4 separate regions of the Homo sapiens genome follow, and regions 1, 2 and 3 are each linked to region 4. Evidence: promoter capture Hi-C in 16 types of primary human blood cells and fetal thymus (Javierre and others, 2016). All regions are on one chromosome and are shown on one strand. Each heading gives the region's core, a stretch centred on a gene start or on the middle of the fragment in contact. The rest is flanking DNA. Distances are from core to core; before and after follow the strand shown.

Evidence for each region. Contacts are between HindIII fragments. The CHiCAGO score rates a contact against its expected background, and 5 or more counts as called.
Region 1: a fragment that was not itself captured here is called in contact with the fragment with the promoter of SHISA2 in region 4 in 2 of 17 cell types (megakaryocytes and activated CD4 T cells); the score reaches 5.4 in megakaryocytes.
Region 2: a fragment that was not itself captured here is called in contact with the fragment with the promoter of SHISA2 in region 4 in 1 of 17 cell types (megakaryocytes); the score reaches 5.5 in megakaryocytes.
Region 3: a fragment that was not itself captured here is called in contact with the fragment with the promoter of SHISA2 in region 4 in 3 of 17 cell types (total B cells, erythroblasts and naive B cells); the score reaches 7.1 in total B cells.

What each region holds. Positions count from the first base shown.
Region 1 is chr13:25,532,182-25,534,881 of GRCh38, forward strand. ATP8A2 (ATPase phospholipid transporting 8A2) reads left to right here. Exons shown (of 37, transcript NM_016529.6): 5 at 91-136; 6 at 1,092-1,132. Among named protein-coding and RNA genes, the nearest start is that of ATP8A2, 160 kb to the left of the region's middle. The HindIII fragment of the contact is 566 bases long and covers 1,019-1,584 here.
Region 2 is chr13:25,492,907-25,495,606 of GRCh38, forward strand. The region is part of intron 2 of ATP8A2 (ATPase phospholipid transporting 8A2); the gene reads left to right. Among named protein-coding and RNA genes, the nearest start is that of ATP8A2, 120 kb to the left of the region's middle. The HindIII fragment of the contact is 692 bases long and covers 1,105-1,796 here.
Region 3 is chr13:26,700,985-26,703,684 of GRCh38, forward strand. No RefSeq gene overlaps it. Among named protein-coding and RNA genes, the nearest start is that of GPR12, 58 kb to the right of the region's middle. The HindIII fragment of the contact is 576 bases long and covers 1,025-1,600 here.
Region 4 is chr13:26,050,766-26,053,465 of GRCh38, forward strand. SHISA2 (shisa family member 2) reads right to left here and starts at 1,251. Exons shown (of 2, transcript NM_001007538.2): 1 at 1-1,251. The coding sequence starts at 210. It overlaps LINC00415 (long intergenic non-protein coding RNA 415), which reads right to left. Exons shown (of 2, transcript NR_146971.1): 2 at 1,511-1,907. The HindIII fragment of the contact is 15,847 bases long and covers 1-2,700 here.

The DNA of each region.
Region 1 (2,700 bases), core at 52-2,551, 520 kb before region 4:
CCCTGTAATTTCCTGATTGTTTTGTTTGCTATTTCAATTATTCATGTGGAACTTTTGAATGTTAAACTATTTTTTTTCTTTCTGTAACAGAAGCGACACAAGGCAGACAATGCAGTTAACAAAAAGAAAACAATAGGTAAGATCCCAGGCTGAAGGACTTTTTCCACTGGAAAACTTAAGAATAAGGCCTGCATTTAAGGAATTTTAAATAAGTAGTGAATGGTATTGAGATAAATTGGGAAGATGATCTATAAAATAAAGAAATAGTAAAATAACAAACAAACTGAACATAATTTTAGTCCTGATAATTAAGTTTGAACAGCATTTGTGTATTTTAGAATGTTAGAAAAGGTTGTAATTTTCAGGAACTAGACAGTTTTTATGTCCATAAAAAGTCTAAGCATTCATGTCCTTCATTTATAATCTCTCCTTACTTCCCTCTTCTACTTTTTATTGTTTTATTTCTACAACATCAATTTTTTGTTTGTTTGTTTCATTTTTTGAGACAGGGTCTCACTCCTGTTGCCCAGGCTGGACTACAGTGGCATGATCATGGCTCACTGTAGCTTTGACCTCCCAGGCTCAGGTGATCCTCCCACCTCAGCCTCTTGAGTAGCTGGGACTACAGGCAAGCACCACCACCCCCGACTAATTTTTGTATTTTTGGTAGAGATGGGTTTCACCGTGTTGCCCAGGCTAGCCTCAAACTTCTGGGCTCAAGCAGTCTGCCTGCCTTGGCTTCCCAAAGTGTTAGGATTACAGGTATGAGCCACTGCGCCCAGCTGTTCAGTTTTTTTTAAATTGTGGAACAGCAGGCTTTTTTTTTCTTCTGGGCTGAAAATAAGTAGATTTAACTTACATACATACATAAACATTTATGTGTATGCATGAATGTATATATGTTACAGAGGTACATACCATACGTTGGTGTTCCATTTTGAGGGTGGGGGTGCTGATGTTATGCCATCATGGCTAAAGATAGGGTATGTTAGAATTAATAAATGGAATTCTAAAAGAAAGCTTTTGGATTTTAGGAAGCTGATTCAATTTAACACCAGTATTAACCAATATTTTATTTTTCTCTTTTTCAGTGTTAAGAAATGGTATGTGGCATACCATTATGTGGAAAGAGGTAAAAACTAATTTTAAAGATGTACCAGTACTATTGGTTTGAAGACGCGTAATGAATTGCTGGTCTTGATTGCAGTATAAAGTTTCTGTTAGACACAGTAGAGTTTTCCATGAGGTCTGCTGAGACCTGATGCGTGTTTACTCCTTCCCTTGCACCTTCTAGTAAGGGCCCAATGTGTCACTTCAAGCTATGAACTTCATCGCTCCTGAGTGACGTTTCTGAAATCTCAAAGTATTTTCTAGTTTCTAAATCCAATTTGAGAAATATTTTCCCTGGTCCTCTGTTGTCTTAACCTAAGTTAAAGTTTATTTTTGTTTTTAGCATTTGTGATTCTCACTTTAAACATTTTTGGGTGGAAAGGTCATTAACTACAGAGTGGTGGAAAGGGGGCAAGAAACCACCCCATTTCCGTTCTAGCACAGCAGTTAGCTGCTCTTAATAATAGCAAGGAAAGCTTTGCTTCCACGTCCCTGGAAGTATGAGGTTTAGAGGGTTGAAGAATGGTGTGGTTTTTTGGTTGTTTATGGTGATGAGTAGAAAATTTAGAAGAAATCTGCCATACCATCTAGGTATTTTATATCTCATAAAATTAGCTTTTTAAATGAGTGTTTTAGCTGGACCTTCTTAATGGACACAAGATGTGTTGGGGGATGACTCTCATTAGTCCAGCATTCAAAGCCGATTAACATGATTTCAAAAGAAAACAGCTTTTTAGAAGGGTAACTTGAAGTGGTTCTTCTTGCTAAATAAACATTTAATAAACAATGTTTTTAAATGCCTCTTACAGTCTTTTATATCTGAAAAATGCCCGTGATATGGTAACTGCAGCATTTGCTTTAGTTTTCGTTTTACTTTACTTTGTTTTAGGAGAATTCGCCACCCTTTAAAGAAATTTCTCCTTTATAGTGTTTTACAGTAACACCTTAACCTTTGCTGCAATCTTGAAGTCGTATGCTGCAAACATTCATCAACCTCACGTTTGGAAAGGTCATGGTTCTTGGTCAGGAGGTTGGGAATTCTTGACTCAAAGTGGGAGAGATGCTCCCAATGCTGAAGGAATTCAAGGGTTCTCCCAGCACTGGGAAATTGCCCCTCTATTTCTCTAGGGTTCTTCTTGTTACTCCCTCCCCAGAAAGGTATCAGTATCAGCTAGAGTGAAGAATGATTTGGATTCAGAGGGCCTGACATTACTTGAAACAGCAGAAAATGGAGTGATGGTCTCTAATTGATGGTCTTCTGTGGTCCAGGAGCTGACAGCTTTGCAGACTCCTAAAACTCATGACTGTTTCCATCGTTCATTTGGGAGAAAAACAACAATAACAAAGAAACACCAGTTATGTACTGTACCGCATGCAGTTTTATTTCCATTTAAAATGTATTTACTTGGTTTATTTCAGTGGAGCTCCTGGCATGTGCCAGAGATTGTACTAGGCATGGGAAGAATGAAGCTCAGCGCTTCCCTTAAGGAGTTTCAAACTTCAGTGGGCATCCCAGTCACCGTCCACAGAGCTGCTGGAACCCAGATGGCTGGGCCCACTCCCAGGCTATCTGATTCACTGGGTCTCAGG
Region 2 (2,700 bases), core at 201-2,700, 560 kb before region 4:
TTCCCTGTTGCTTTAGTGCCTGCACGAGGAGCGAGGGACTTATTCCAGGTTTCCCTTTGTGCTTGGAAGGAAGATGTATTCTCCATAGGCTCCAAAATTCATTTGTTTAGACATTTTAATTACATTTTTTGAATCTGTATTTTTAGCCTGTCCAATTAGTCAGTTTGATAATAGCATCAATCTCCTGTTACAGCTTTCTTGGTCCATTTGCTTGTGAATTTTGTTTTACATGTTTTCATGTAAAACATAATTTACATTTTGAGTAAAATTTAATTTTATGTAAAATAAAGTGTACCACACTGGTGGTAATGTGGCTGTAATTTTTACTCTGGCCTTATGCTCATTAATTATTTCTGTCTTAAACTTGGTGGTGATGTTACTATTTTAGCCTTTCCTTTCTTTTTGCTCATGTTTGTGTTATATGACTACTCATAACTTTGTTTTTAATTTTTTGAAGTTACATAAGAAAATCCCCACAGAGATCCTTTTTCATTTGATGGGGGCGCTTAAACCATTTGTTGGTGTAACTTTTTGGTAGGGCATTTTTTGTTTTATGCTTTTTATTTTTGCTTCCTTGGTGTTTTCTCAACTCTTTGGCTTAGTTGAGAAAGCTCACTGTGGGATTACTAAACATATGCGGGAACCGGAAGTGAAGACATCAGTTGTCATCACGTTGATCTTGCAGAGTCTGTGGACATTCAGGTAGGTGTATCCAGAGAAGTTAAATATGCTGGTCTAGACAGAGCTTGTGGTAGACATCCAAGCTGGGGGTGAATTTGATAACCATTTGATGAGTACACTGGTGCTAATTTCAGCCATACATGGAAAAGATGGTTCAGTGCATTGAATAAAGACCAAAGGCAGAAAACCTCAGGGATGATCTCTGTTTCAGGGTCAGGAAAAGGAGTGTGGAGGGGAGGTGGCACAGGAGCCCTGGGAGGTGTAGGGGCTAACCAGGAAAGGAGGGCTGCCAGTAGGTGAGCTCAGGTGCAATGTTTATTGATTTGGGCAAGAAGAAGAGAGACTTCTTTATCAATAGGGTGGAAAGAGCTTTGGGAGTCGGTTTGTGTGTGTGGGTGTCAAGGTGAATCACGTCCACTCTAAAGCTTCAGTTTACTCCATGAAATGGGGAGGAGGCAGAGTGCTCAAAGTGAAGGGGCTGGGGTAGGGCGGAGAGTTTGAGGAGAGAGAACGGTTGGAACAGCCAGGATGGTGCATGGGGCAGGGAGCTGTCCAAGGTCTGTGGCACCAAGAACCTAGGTGACATCAGAAAACACATGTGGGTCAATGTCTGTTAAGGGACCCACTTAGAATTGCTGTGTTGAATAATGTACTTCCGTTTCTTAATCCTTTGGTGATTAAAAAAATTACAAGGAAAAGATCAGTCTGGGTCTGCTGCATTTAATTGTGTGTATAGTAGATGTAATCTCCAAGGTGGGCGGTGGGGGTAGTTGGAGGGATCGCTTTGACCTTTCTGCCACTGCAGAGACTCCTGCTGCCAATATTGAAACAATCATAAATATCTTATTAGGTTTCCTGGGAACAAAGCCATGCTGCAAAGGGTATGAAAGCCTGTTTGGCAGGGATGAAGGTAGGAAGGATTATATGAAAAGAGAGGAGACTGTGGGGACACAGCCCGCTTTTCTGTTTGTTTGCCTGCTTGTTTGTTTTTATGAGGGGCAGGCTCTGTGGTATCTGCATCTATATTTTAGAAGCGCGTTGCTGTTGTTCTGATATTCACAGGGCCTTCATCTGTGTTTAAAAAACTGAAAACATAAGGATAAAAACTGATTTGAAGCTTCTGACATTTTTATAATTGTTTTCAAACACAGTTAACAGCATCTTCCCTTTTACTGTTTTGGACACCTTCTGTCCGAATCCTTCTAGCTGTGAGCGAATTCGACTTTGTAATGATTTCTTTTTTCACAGTGATGTCAGCAAAATCACACAGACCTAGGGGTCCAGCCCGGAGCTTTGCAATGTCCTTCTAGTTCCCTAGAGGCCCTCTGCTGGCTAGCAGCCCTTGGGTGACAGCTTGCTTTCTTTTCACATCTCTTGCCTCTCAAATCTGTTTAAGATTCTGCTTCTTAAACTGTCTGAATTAGGTGTCTCCGCAGATTTCCCTGTGGCCAGCTACCTCCCAAACCAAACACCTATGTAAGCCCACCTTGGTTGTTGTTCCTGAGCACGTTGAGGACATTTGGGCAAACACAACAAGAACAGGAAGTCGACAACGTTCCAGTTATAACCTCCTGCTGCTGCCCTTCCAGGGTGGGGCTGGGCTTCTTCCAACCCACTTTACCACCTGTCTTTGTTCAGGAAAGGCCAGAGTGTGCCATTGCCTTGGAAATGGCCTGTGTAAGAGGCTGAGAAGGGGTTTGAATGAGTCCAAGAAGCAGCAGGATTGGATCTGGAAGGGTTGATGAGGACTGGGTGAGGTGTTGTGGGGTTGTGAGTCTTGTGTGGGCGAGAGCTGGAAAGCACAGATGGAGGTGGAAGGACCCTTCCTTACCTTTTCTCTGCTCTCTCTTCCTACCTATTTGGTTTTTTGGTTGTATTTTTGCTTTTTAAGAGACAGAGTCTTGCTCTGTTACCCAGGCTGGAGTGCAGTGGCATGATCGTAGCTCATTGCAGGCTCCAACTCCTGGCTTCAAGCCCTCCTCCTGCTTCAGCCTCCCAAGAAGCTGGGACCACAGGCAT
Region 3 (2,700 bases), core at 63-2,562, 650 kb after region 4:
ATTCTCCTGCCTCAGCCTCCTGAGTAGCTGGAATTACAGGTGCCTGCCACCATGCCCAGCTAATTTTTTGTGTTTTTAGTAGAGACGGGGTTTTCACCATGTCAGCAAGGTCTCGAACTCCTGACCTCAGGTGATCCACCTGCCTGGGCCTCCCAAAGTGCTGGGATTACAGGCGTGAGCCACTGCGCCCGGCCAGCGTTTCAAGTTTTTAAGAGAATGTGTCCATTTCCCCTTCTCTTTTTATTTTATTTTTATTTTTATATATATTTTTAAATTTGAATTGCTTCTCTCTTTTTCTTGATTAGTTTTACTACTGGCTTTTCTATATTCCAACTTTTTTCAAAGAAATGAATATTTGGTTTGATTCATCTTCTCTCTTTTTGTATTATTCTTTCTTTCATTCGTGTCAGCCCTTATCTCGGGTGTTTGCTTGCTTGGGGTTACTCTTCTTCTTTGTGAAGCCTGTTGACTCAGAGCTTACCTCATTTGTTGTTTTTGAATGAATGCATTTAAAATTATAGTTTTACCTCTAAATATAACTTTCTTAGTCCTACAAATGTTGACATGTGGTCATTTTCTTGTCATTCAATGTGAAATATTTAATAATTTTCCTTATTTTTCTTCTTTATTACAAAGATGATGTATGTGTTGTTTTTGATTTTCATCTATATGGGATTATATACATTGATCCTTTTGATATTGATTTTTTTTCTTTTCTTTTGAGACAGTCTCGTTCTGTTGACCAGGCTGGGGTGCAGTGGCGCGATCTTGGCTCACAACAACCTCTGCCTTCCAGGTTCAAGCAATTCTCCTGCCTAAGCCTCCCACTTTTGATACCGATTTTTTAAATTTTATATAAGGCTAGAGAAGATGGGCTGAATGTTGCTGATTCTTTGGTATGCATTGGGCCCTCCTTCATGGGCTTATGTATCGCTCGTGTTCATGACTGTTCTGTGTGCACTTAGAGGCAATGCTCATTTTCTTTAATCTCTAATTAACCAAGATTATTCAAAATATTAATCGAAGCTTCTATGCCTTTGGTTATTACTTGCCTGCTTGATCTGTTAGCTTCAAAGGAATATTTTAAAATATCTAATTTATATTTTTATTTTTAATACTCTTTCCTTTTCTTTCTGATTTTTAAAATTTTGGCCTTAAAACAGTTTTGATACCAAAATTGATATACAGCTTTCTTTTCATTTATATTTGCCTGGGATATGTTTAATAACTTAAAAGAAACTTTCCGTATCCTTTCATTTTAAATAGGTTTCACATACATACACATGTTCGTACATATATACATACATCTATGTAATGAATAGCTTTCTTTTCTAATCTTTATTTAAAATAGCTTCATCAGATTAATAGTTTCTTTCCATTTCTAGTTTAAAATTTTGTTTAAAAAATCACAAGTAGTTGTTGAATTTTACAAATGACTTTCTATATTTATTCAGATGTTCATGTGACTTTTCTCCCTTAACCCGTTAACTACAGATTACATTATTTTGTTACTATTTTGTTTAGAAGTTTTATATTTATTTTCATGAGTGAGATTAGTCTACAATTTTCCTTTTTAAAACTATTTTTATTTCGGGAACAAAGCTTTGTCAGCTTTATAGAATAAGCAAACAAGCATTTTTGCTGTTTTCTATTCTGTAGAAAAGCTTTTATAAGATTGGCACTTTTGGTCTTTAATTTAAGGTTTGGCTGAACTCAAGAGTGAGGCCATCTGAAGCTGGGCTTTTCTTTTGGTTTTTGATGCTGATTCAGTTTTTTTTGTTGTATTTTAGTATTTTGTATTTTAGGGCAATTGTCGCTTTTTATTTCTTCTTGAGTCATTTCTGATGAGTTACCTTTACCTAAAAATTAGACTATTTCTTCTAAATTTCAGGAAAAAGTTATCTGTTATATTCTCTTGTTATCTTTTTAATGCCAGCAACCACTATCGTGATGCTCTGTTGAAAGCAGTTTGTGCTGTCTTTTGCCTCTGAGTCCAGCTCACTGGTGCTATGCCAAATTTATTAGTTCGTTGTTTGTTTGTTTTTGTTTTTAAAGAAAGTAACCTTTAGTGTTGGTCCTCTTTATTATGTTTGTTTTCAATTTTATTTGTTTGTGCTCAGAATTTTGTGATTTCTTTCTTTCTCACTTCTTCAGGTTTATTTTACTATTCTTATTCTAACTTCATGAGATGGACTCTTAGTTCATTATTTTTCAATCTTCTTTTCCATCATACACATTTTATGGCTATAGTTTTACTACATTCTGCTTAATTAAATTCCGTAAGTTGGGATATGGAGTCTTTTAATTAACATTCAGTTCAAGATATTTTCTAATTTGCATGTGTGAGTGATTCAGAAGCAGGTTTCTTAATTTGCAAACAGATGAGGATTTTCTGCTTAGGTTTTTGGATTTTAGTTCTCACTTTATTGCACTGTAGTTTTAGAAGACACTTTGCATGATAGCATACATGCTGTCTATGAAATTTGATGAGATTTACTTTATGATCCAGGACATAGCCAGTTTTAGAAAATAGTGTATTTGAGGTTATTGGATGCAGTGTTTTATATCTGTCCATTGATTTAAGTTTTTTTGTATTGTCAAGTCTTCTATATTCTTACTGAATTTTTTTAAATCACTGAGAGGATGTCTGTTAAAAAAAAAAAAAAGTCCAGGCCAGGTGTGTGGCTCACGCCGATAATC
Region 4 (2,700 bases), core at 1-2,500:
GCAGCTGCCGCAGCAGATGGTGGCGTCGCCGCCGTCGAAGCGCTCGGGACACTGGAAGCCGATGCGCCAGACGCCCTGCGCGTCCAGCCAGCCGTGGCAGTACTCGCCGCTGGCCCTCGCCCCCGCCGCCAGCAGCGCAGCCAGCAGCAGCTGCAGGAGCGAAGCGGCGTTCCAGGATGAGGAGACGGACGAGCGGCGAGCGCCCCACATGGCACCACCCTGGGCGCGGACAGCGCGTCTCCAGAGAGCGCAGGACGGTCTCCGAGAAGTCGTGGCCCCGGCGACCCCCGGGCCTCGTCACTGACTGTCCCGCGGCGCTTTCCGCGCGGGCCACTCCCCTCTGCCGCGACGCCCAGGAGGCGACGACGCCGGGCCCTAGGTCCAGGAGCTCCTAAGCCATCCCCGTCCTCAGCCGGTGGCCCGGTCCCCTTAGGGACTGCCTTATGAGTTGCACTCGCTGATGGAAATCTCGGGATGCAGTCAGAAGGCCCCCGGGGCTGTCGTCCGGAAGCCTCTGGAGGTTTCACTGGCAACCGGACCCTCCCTGAGCATCCCCGAAGGGATGCTCACTCGAGCCGAATGACCGCTGGGCGCGCCGCCGCGGACCTGGAGCCAGGGCTCTGCGCAGGGTTTAAGCCTCAGGGTCCCGCGCGCGAATCAGGGCCCGTCTCCCCTCCTTTATTCCCTCCTCGGGCGGGTAGAAGGGGCGAAGGCGGGCAGTGCACGCAAGGCTCTGGGCAGCAAGTGACGCAGCCGGCCGCGCTCAGCCTCCTCTGCCCCGAACTTGGTCCGCATGGCTCCGGCCGGGCCGCCCGGGCAGCCCACGGGGGTGCAGCCCCGACGCTCCACTCGGCGGGGCCGACGGCCAATCTTCCCAGCACGTCGCCGAGGGAGCGCTCCTGACCCCGGGAACGTCCAGGACGCAGGCGAGGGTCCTGCGCGCCCCCAGCCGCAGTCCCGGGAGCCTGCCCAGCTGGCGGCGGCCGCGGCTGCTGCTGGGCGCGGATCCAGGCGGGCGGCTCGCCCCGGTTCCCCTTCTCCGCCTCCCCGGCTGCAGCGCGGTCCCACAGGAGCCCGGCAGCCTCCGGCCGGCTCTCCCTCTCCCGGTCGCTGCCTCGCCCTCGGGAGGTGTGCGCACCGATGGAAGCCTCCCACGGAAGTTTCTTTCCTCCGGGCTACGGGAGAAGCCGAGCGCAGCAGCCGCCCACAGCCTCGCCTCGCCCCGCCCGGCGCCAGACCAGCTCCGACTCCGCTCGCTGCCGCGCTGAGCCGCGCTCTTATAGAGGCCGGCGGCTCCCCGGCGCGCATGCGCGCTGCGCGGCTCCCCCCCACCCCCGACCTCAGGGACGCCCGCGGGCGCCGGGCAGCCCCTCACTTTCCTACCCCGGGCAAGGAGAAAGGTGTGGCCAAGGGCGGGGTCTGCCTGCTGGAATAGGCGCGGGAGGAAACCCAACCTAAGCAATCCAGGCCTCGCTAACACAAATAACAATAATAACGGAAGAAACTCAACTTGCTTTGTGAAGATCTTTGGCATTCAACATTCGGTTCGATTCTGCAAACTTCTCAAGGGATTATGATTACTTTCCACTCTGCAGATCATAAAATCGCCACTCAGATGAACTCTCTCGGCTTCCAGCAGCTGATGTCCTGGCCACGGTTGGTCCCAGGCCCTGTGCAGGAAGAGCACCGATGTTTGTGGCAGGGTTCACACGCCTAGGGCTGTGTTTGGTGGACTGGAGGCCTCCACCACAAGGTGGAACGGAGAGAGTTCAGCAAAGATGTCACACATTCGGCCACGGTGTGGATGATCTGTGTCCCTTTTTCTTTCTATATTTGGGTGTGGTGATTTATCGGATTCCAGCAGGAAAGTGCCTCCGTCCAACATGTGGCCTTAGTGGTTTAGACAGCTGCAGTCAGGAAGAAAACAAGGTTCAGACAGACCAGAAATTCAGCTTTGATGAAGGAGAAATTAATAGCTTCTCTCTTGCAGAAGCTGGAACAACAGGTGCTGATGTTATTAAAGCAGCAGTGCTTATTTTTAAAGGAACGAATGCCCCTTCCCACACCGTCTGGGAGTCAGCAGACCTGAATTCTAGACCCAGCCCTACTAGCAGGGAATCACTGCGTTTTTCTGGTCTCAGTTTCTTCATCTATAAAGTGGAGCATAGGATGTGACGATCACTAAGGTCCCTTTCAAGTCCATGACTTCAGAACACAGGCAGTTTTATTCACAGCAAAGACACTCAGGTTCAAGCAGCCATTGGATGCTTGTGTATGCCTGGTTAATGTGAAGATTCAGACATTGTTGATTATTCTTCCACTTGCCCCAACAATGTCAAATCCAAGAAAAAAAACCCTACCCTATGTCCCTGCTCCCCAACACACACCTTATTCTTTTCACTAAACCTCTCTCCAAGCATTGCACTTTGTTTTCTTGCAGTTTTTTGGTTGTGTATCGTTTTAAGCTACACAAAATTATATACTTTAAATGCACTATTCACCAAATGTCTTAAGCTAGTAAGCTAAAAAAAATTTCAATGTCAAGAAATCATTCATTCAAGAAATACACGCCATGCACTTACAGTGTACTGTGCTCTGTGCTGGGTACTGGGACTCATCAAGAAGCCAGACAGCATGGCCATTTCCTTCAAATAGGGCCTAAAGTCTCCAGGGTAAAATACAGAAATCAGACAAAAAGAC